Regions from separate parts of the Homo sapiens genome. Here all the other regions are linked to region 2. Evidence: promoter capture Hi-C in human tissues and cell types (Jung and others, 2019). All regions are on one chromosome and are shown on one strand. The core of a region is centred on a gene start or on the middle of the fragment in contact, and the rest is flanking DNA. Distances in the headings are between cores, read along the strand shown. Region 1 overlaps ZNF212 (zinc finger protein 212). Region 2 holds the start of ZNF467 (zinc finger protein 467). Region 3 overlaps LOC107986856 (a long non-coding RNA gene).

Region 1 (2,700 bases), core at 129-2,628, 520 kb after region 2:
ATCCTCCCACCTTGGCCTCCCAAAGTGTTGGGATTACAGATGTGAGCTACCACACCCATCTCAAATAGTCTTAAATATTAAAAACAGCATGAGAGGCCAGGTGCGGAGGCTCACGCCTGTAATCCCTGCACTTTGGGAGGCCGACGTGGGTGGATCACTTGAGCCCAGAAGTTCAAGACCAGCCTGGGCAACACAGTAAGACCCACGTCTCTACAAAAAATTTAAAAAATTAGCCAGGCGCAGTGGCATGTGCCTGTAATCCCAGCTACTCGGAAAACTGAGGTGGGAGAATCATTTGAGCCCAAGCTGTCAAGGCTGCAGTGAGCCGAGATCGTACCACTGCACTCCAGCCTAGGTGACAGAGTCTCAAAAAAAAAAAAAAAAAAAAAAAAGATAAAACAGGCCAGACGCAGTGGCTCACACCTGTAATCCTAGCACTTTGGGGGGCTGAGGTGGGCAGATCACGAGGTCAGGAGTTCAAGACCAGCTTGGCCAACATGGTGAAACCCCATTTCTACTAAAAATACAAAAATTAGCTGGGCGTGGTGGCAGTCACCTGTAATTTCAGCTACTCGAGAGGCTGAGGCAGGAGAATCGCTTGAACCTGTGAGGCAGAGGTTGCAGTGAGCCAAGATTGTGCCACTGCACTCCAGCCTGGGCAATAGAGCAAGACTCTGTCTCAAAGAAAAAAAGAAAAAAAAAAGATAAAATAAATTAAAAAACAACATGAGGAACCCTAGCCATATCACACTATAGGGTATATGACATTTTATTTATTAGAAAATACTATCAAGAACAGACTATGTGACCACAGGAAAAAAAAAAAAAAAACACAAAAGGCACAATGCTGCGAGCTTTCCAAAAGTCTCTGTAAATGGGAGGACCTAGAGACTGGCATTTCTCCACCCGTGCAGGTCTGTAAATGGGAGGACCTAGAGACTGGCATTTCTCTGCCCGTGCAGGCCGACAGAGGACCCACAGCCACAGGAGCCACAGGTGTGGTCTGAATTACAGGCTGCCAGCCAGGAATTGTAGTATGTCTGAGACAGAATTCTAGGGAGAAAACTGCTACTCACTCAGAGAGACCAGTGTCTCATAGTTACTCTCCATCACGTTTCTGTAGAGCTCCTTCTGCCAATCCTCCAGATTCTCCCATTCCTGCTCGGTGAAACAGACGCCATCATTCTCCAGTGACCTGGACACCTGGAATCACCAATGGCACACCATGAGTGCTTCTACTCACAGCTATGACAGAAAAGCCAGCAACTGAGGTGCTTACATATTAAAGGGCTGGCTCCCCCTTCTCTTCTAACTTTTAATCCTCAATGAGACTACCTTGGGGGCCTCCCCCTTGCTGCCCGGGGGCAGCCGCAGGATCCAGAAGTTCCTGTTGCGCAGCAGGTTCTCCACGTTCTCCAGCCGCCTCTGCAGTAGCCCATACTCCTGCAGCAGGGTCCCCAGCACGGCCCACTTGCCCTCCAGCTGGTTCCCGAACTCCACGGCCATCTTCTCGCAGTCAGCCAGCTTCTTCTCGGCTGTCCCCGTGCGCCCCTCCAGGCTCTGTAGCCGGGCAGCCTGGGACTCCATCTTCTTCTCCACAGCCTGAATAGCGGCCACCACCGTCCAGAGTGAAATCTCGGTGGTCTGAAAATAGGAGCTTTTCTCTGTTGCTTGTGAAGGAAGTGTGGAAGAAGTTAAAGGTGTGGAGCGTCGTTTTCTCCTGTGCTGATGGATTAAAGACACAGGGTCAATGTCACTTCCAAACATCAAGTAAAGAAAGCAGTGTTCAAGTGTATCAGTGCTCAGAGTTATCTAGTTTCTTTTAATTAAAAAAAAGCATGTCTTTTATTGATACTAAAAATTATACATAGATATTGTATTAATAATGTTGGAAAATGATGAAGAATAGAAAGAAAATATTACACAAAATCTTCTCACACACAATAAGCTGTTAGGGCTGGCCGTGGTGGCTCACAACTGTAATCCCAGCACTTTGGGAGGCCAAGGCAGCTGAATCACTTTAGCTCAGGAGTTTGACACCAGCCTGGCCAACAAGGCAAACCCTGTCTCTACAAAAAAGTTCAAAAAATTAGCCAGGCATGGTGATGCATGCCTGTAGTCCCAGGTACTTGGGGCACTGAGGTGGGAGGACGGTTTGAGCCCAGGAGGTTGAGGCTACAGTGAGCCAAGATCGTGCCAGTGCACTCCAGCCTGAGTAACAGAGTGAGACCCTGTCTCAAAAAAGAAAAAGAAAGAAAGAAGCTGTTTGAATTTTGGTGTATTTCTAAAGTTTTTTTTCATCTTTTAGTTTATTTTTTTTCAACAAAAGTGAAATTATAGCGTGTATGTTCTGTTACCTATGCTTTATGCTTAGCATATTCTCTGAGACTCCTGTATCAGTGTTCATTTTTAAACCTATTTTTATTTAATGTTTTGGACTATATGATAAAAGATGTCACTTACATCTTATCTTGCTTCCACATCCCTGCCAGACTTCATAGTTGATCATGTCACCCGTTTGAAAACTTTCAATGGCTCCCCACAATAAAGACAAAATTCCTTAGCAGGACCTACAAGACCTAATTCATTCATCTTTGCACTCTAGCAGCTGGGATGGTGAATAAATCCTTAAAAAATATTTACTGAAATGATGTGACTAAGTCTACTGACATTTTCCTTATAATTTTCACTTTAATGAGC
Region 2 (2,700 bases), core at 45-2,544:
GAGCTGGGCCGGGCTCTCCTTCTCCTGGGTTCACCATTGGTCCCAGGGCCAAAAAAGGGCCCAGAGTGAGTCTCTCAGGGGGTCACGGATGACTGGGATCAACTCCTGCTCTGGAGTCCTCAGAAAGAGCCACACGCACACCCAGACACCCCCCTTTCCTGTTTTACACACATGCACACTCTCACTGTAAGTCTCACAACACCGGCACAGGTGCTCGGCCACACCCCAGCACGCACAGTGACACATGCTACTCCAGGTGCTCCCTTCATCCTGGAGGCAGAGGAGCCTTCACAGCTGAGCCCGAGTGATGGGCGCTCTTCCAGGCACTCATCCTTGTGGTGGGCTGTGGTAGCAGGAGCTCAAGGGCCATTCACACCCTCCCCTTCCCAGCCTCACTCAGCTCTGGATTCAAACCGGGGCTGATCAGGCAGCACTGGGATTGGGAAGAGACCCGAGTTGCAGTCACCCTTTCCCGTAAAGGGGCAGAAGGGAGGAAGCTGGAACCCAGGGGTTTGGAGAAAGTTCATGGAGAGGAGACCGGGAACTAACAGTCCAGACTTCAGCATCTCCGGAGCTTTCAGGAGTGGGCGCAGCGGGAACAAGGCCAAGGAGAAACCTCGTAACCTGGGCAGGGAGGGCGAGTGGAGTCCCCTGAGGAGCTGGGGCTGAGGGCTGAGGGCTGAGGGCTGCCCTCCACATCTAACTCCAGGTGGTGTCCGGGCCAGCAGGCCCCCCAGCAATCGTCTCCCGCCCATAGAGCCCTCCCCTCTCTGCAGCCCCCTCCCAGACCCTCCCCCGGACCCCGCCCTCAGAATCTCCGCCCAGCCCCGTCCCAGCCTTGCCCCCTGGAGCTCCCGACCTGGCCCGGCCTTCTCCCAGGGGACCTGGCTTAAAGTCCTCTCCCCAGTTTCTACTTCGAAGGACCCGTTCTCGCAAGCACAGGGGCCCAGCCCTCTCTCCCGCCTGCCCCCACGGCTCCCGCGGCTGGTTTCGAATCGGGTCCTCGGGACTCCAGGCGAGGGGCTGCGGGTCTGGGTGGATCGGGGTGGAATCCGGGTGGAGAATGGGGGCGGGGCCGGAGTTTCCCAGACCGACCCCCCGGGCCGTCCTCCCGCGGGAGCGCGGCGCTGCACACCCGGCTGGCACCGGCGACTTAGAGACGGCAGCGCACGACTCGCTGGCTCCCCCCCGACACGGCCCCTCCTCGTTCCCCCAACTCCTCCCCGCCACCCCCCCACCCGTTCGCGCTCCACCTTTCCCCGGCTCCTCCCTCCGCGGCCGCGAGCACCCTCCCTTGGCACCCTTCCCCGCAGCCCGAGTGCCTGTCCTCCCCAGCCTCCTCGCCCTCCTCCACCCCCTCTCCCATCACCCTCCCCTCCCCTCCCCTCCCCTCCCCCGTCCTGAGCTCCCACTTCCACACCTACTCCAGGCTCGGAGCCTTAGGACCATCACCTGCCCACCTAAGCCCACGGTGCTCCCTCCTGGGACCCCACTCCTGAAACCCCCTGCCCCTGCCTCCCCCAGCCCGGTGCGCCGGGGCTCTCCGCCCGCTCCCTCGGTCCCTCCTCCCTTGCAGGCGCCGTTTCCCGGCTTCGACTCCCCGCGCGTCTATCCCTCTCCTCCCCGCGAAGTTTCGGGGCTGTCAGTCTGTCAGTCTTTCAGGCCGTCAGCACCCGAGCTGCAGGCGGCGAGCGCCATTGTGAGCAGAGCCGGCGGGGCAGGAGGCCCGGGCGCCTGGGTCCCCGCGGCGCGGGCGGAGCGGCCGGCCAGCCAGGTAAGGGCCGGGGAGGCTCCTCTGCAGGCGGCCCCGCCCGCGTCTCCCTCAGCGCCGCGGTTGGGTCACGGCCGGCTCCGCGCAGGTGACAGCCCCGGGGGTAGGGGCGCGGACGGCGGGCGTGGGGGAGGGGCGCGGGTCCGGGGAGGTCGGGGGCTGGGGGGAAGGGAGGGCAAGGCCGGCGCGGGCAGGGTGAGGGCTGTGGGGGTAGAGGAGACCGGGGGGGCTGGAGGGAAGGGCGGGGGCTGGGAGGGGGTCGGGCGGGAGGCAGGTGGGAAGGGGGACGACGGGCCCCGAGGGGAGGAGAGAGGGAGTGTGGGAGGGGGCCGAGGGGGAAGGGGAGGAAGAAGCGGGCGCTGGGGACCGGGCCACTCGGTAGGGGCGGGAGAGGAGGGCGCTGACAGGTGAGCCCCGGAGCTGGGGAGGGGGCCGGGACCTGGAATGAAGTCGGCGATCGGAGCTGCTTGGGAGGGCGGCGGGGCAGGGAGGTGGAGCTGAGGGTCCCGTCGGGAGGAAAACTTGGGAGGGGTGAGAAGTCCGAGGGGAGCAGAAATAGGGAGGGGGCGCCGCGGCGGAGAAGAGAGGCGCGGAGGGGTGTTCGGAGGGGAGACGGAGTGGGGAGGGCAGGGCCCGCGGGAAGGTCCCGAGAGAGCGGGTCAGCCCTAGACCCCCAGGCTTGGGGGCCGGAGGACCCGGGAGCTGGGAAGCAGCCTGGGAGGGGGGAGGGGAAGAGCGGTTCTGGGGACTGGGGACGGGGAGGGAAGCGAAGCTGGAGCCTGCTGGGGAGACAGAGGGGGAAGGGAGGCGGGGGCCTCGGAGGGGAAGGAGAGCTGCAGAAGGGAGGGGGGAGGGGGAGGGCGGTGGGGAGACGTGGGGGAGGGCTGGAAAGGGGGAGGGGAAGGGAACCGAGGTGAGGCGAGGAAAGG
Region 3 (2,700 bases), core at 194-2,693, 630 kb after region 2:
CCTAGGAGGAGGAGGTTGCAGTGAGCGGAGATTGCACCATTGCACTCCAGCCTGGGAAACAAGAGTGAAACTCCATCTCAAAAAAGAAAAAAAAAAATGTAGTAGCCGAGCACAGTGGGAGGCCGAGGTGGGTAGATTGTTGGAGCCCAAGAATTCAAGGCCAGTCAGGGCAACCTGGTGGGACCCTGTCTCCATAAAAAAATACAAAAATTAGCCTGAAATGGTAATGCACACCTGTCGACCCAGTTACTCGGGAGGCTGAGGTAAGATCACTTGAGCCAGGGAGGTTGAAGCTGCAGTGAGCTGTAATAATACCACTGCACTCCAGCCTGGGCGACAGACTGACATCCCATCTCCAAAAAAAAAGTAGTAAAGTTTTCAAGTTTGATGTTATAAGGCAAGAACAACAATTTCTGTCAGATGCTCCTATGGCCATTTAACAGGGACATTTGTATTACTAAATAAGACTTCCAACTGAGCTCCATAGAAAGCAAGGCTACCTCTCTGCTTTAATATGGTAATATTACCACCAACTTATTAAATGTTCCTTCCTTGAATAGGAATATATTAAGACAAGAAATTCTTCCTATTTAATTCTTGGCCTTAAAAATTCTTTGGATGGTACTGGCATTTCATTAAGCAATTTCACTGACTGAAGCTTTTTGTGTACTGTTTAAAGAAGATGCACAATATTTTCAGAAGCAGATGTAAGGTTGTTGTACTAACTTATTTTTAATTTATAATATTTTTGTCTGCTCTTGCTGCTATACATAATCACTAGAGAAAAAAATTGTCCTAAAAGTTTGGATCTAGAAATGTGACTATGAAACAATTTAATTGGCTTTTTTGGGGGGTTGTTTGTTTGTTTTTTGAGATGGAGTTTTTACTCTTGTTGCCCAGACTAGAGTGGAATGGCGCAATCTCTGCTCACTGGAACCTCTGCCTCCCGGGTTCAAGTGATTCTCCTGCCTCAGCCTCCCAAGTAGCTGGGATTACAGGCATGCGCCACCATGGGGGCTAATTTTGTATTTTAAGTAGAGACGAGGTATCACCATGTTGGCCAGGCTGGTCTCGAACTACTGACCTCAGGTGATCTGCCCACCTCGGCCTCCCAGAGTGCTGGGATTACAGGCGTGAGCCACCGCACCCTGCCAATTGGTTTTTGAGTTAACAAAATAATCCCAGTTTCCATCTGCATCTTGACTTTCCCTGCATATGCACACCAATTTCAGCATCTTCCTTTGCACAGAATCAAGGACAGATTTTTTTCAGCATGTATGATGTAAAAAATACACTGATGGCACATCAATTTATTCAGCAAGTTCCAACAAACTCTTTTGTCTTCAAGCAACCATTGGTTATTGGTAAATCTTGCTACATTGGTAATATTCTCTGAAAATTACAAAATTAAAGCCTTTATCCGATCAGCTTTAGAAGGACGTAATAATTGCACCACCTTGCTTCAGTATCTTGTAAAACAAGACAGTTTCAAAATCTACAATGTTCCTGCTTGCCGCCAGTAATTTTCTTTTCTTTTCTTTTTTGAGATGGAGTCTCGCTCTGGCCACCGCGCCTGGCCAGTAATTGTCTATTACATCATTAATACATTAAGCTAGATGTGGGAGAATCACCTGAGCCTGGGAGGTTGAGTTTGCAGGGAGCCGAGATCATGCCACTATACTAATCAATCATCGATCAATAAAATAACATACATGAAGCTATACCTGTTTTCTGAATGTAAAACTGAAGATGGGAACAAACTATAGTGTGCTTGTGCTCATAGCCTTTACTGTATTTTTCCATGGGAAATTCGACGTTCGTGCGTTTCCGTTTACTGATTTTACATTCCACAAATTTTTCTCAAAGTCAGATTCACTGAGACCTAGGAATTTTTCATTAAGTAGGGAAAATGGAAACCCAGTTGAATTAATAATTGCTCCTCTGTATGGTCAAACATAAAAAGTTAAGCGTGATTCTTCATATCCAAATATCTGGTTTTTTGTTTGTTTGTTTGTTTTTAGACGGAGTCTCGCTCTGTTGCCCAGGCTGGAGTGCAGTGGCGCGATCTTGGCTCACTGCAAGCTCCGCCTCCAGGCTTCACGCCATTCTCCTGCCTCAGCCTCCCGAGTAGCTGGGACTACAGGTGCCTGCCACCACGCCCGGCTAATTTTTTGTATTTTTAGTAGAGACGGGGTTTCACCGTGTTAGCCAGGATGGTCTCGATCTCCTGACCTCGTGATCCGCCCGCCTCGGCCTCCCAAAGTGCTGGGATTACAGGCGTGAGCCACCACTCCCAGCCCCAAATATCTTATATACCAGATATATACAGTATCTGGTACATATACAGATATATACAGTATATATCTGGTATATAAGACATTTTCAATATTTTATTGCAGCATTTTTAATATTTCATTAACCTTTTGGTGCACAGCAGAAAATGAATCAGGAAAAATATTTTAGGAATGTTTCCTAAAATAAATCAATATTTAGAATAAGATCTTGGGGAAATCTCAACCGAAAATGGTTACCAGTCTATAGCAATTATCTCTACAAGCTCTAAAAACATTAGTCCAGGCACGGTGACTCACCTCTGTAATCTCAACACTTTGGGAGGTCGAGGTGGGAGGATTGCTTGAACCCAGGAGTTTGGAGCTGTAGTAAGCCATGACTGTGCCACTGCATTCCAGCCTGAGTGGC

What was found. Contacts are between HindIII fragments. The study calls those that stand out against the background at their distance.
Region 1: a contact is called between a fragment that was not itself captured here and the fragment with the promoter of ZNF467 in region 2, in 1 of the 25 tissues and cell types used here (spleen).
Region 3: a fragment that was not itself captured here is called in contact with the fragment with the promoter of ZNF467 in region 2 in 1 of the 25 tissues and cell types used here (lymphoblastoid cells).

The regions. Positions count from the first base shown.
Region 1 is chr7:149,249,184-149,251,883 of GRCh38, reverse strand. ZNF212 (zinc finger protein 212) reads right to left here. Exons shown (of 5, transcript NM_012256.4): 2 at 1,336-1,725; 3 at 1,077-1,203. Among named protein-coding and RNA genes, the nearest start is that of ZNF212, 11 kb to the right of the region's middle. The HindIII fragment of the contact is 4,566 bases long and covers 1-2,700 here.
Region 2 is chr7:149,772,182-149,774,881 of GRCh38, reverse strand. It overlaps ZNF467 (zinc finger protein 467), which reads left to right and starts at 1,294. Exons shown (of 5, transcript NM_207336.3): 1 at 1,294-1,774. RefSeq lists a silencer at 1,672-1,851. The HindIII fragment of the contact is 33,741 bases long and covers 1-2,700 here.
Region 3 is chr7:149,141,985-149,144,684 of GRCh38, reverse strand. It overlaps LOC107986856 (a long non-coding RNA gene), which reads left to right. Exons shown (of 2, transcript XR_007060581.1): 2 at 1-1,721. It also overlaps a transcript of ZNF398 not described here. Among named protein-coding and RNA genes, the nearest start is that of ZNF398, 4.1 kb to the left of the region's middle. The HindIII fragment of the contact is 6,283 bases long and covers 1-2,700 here.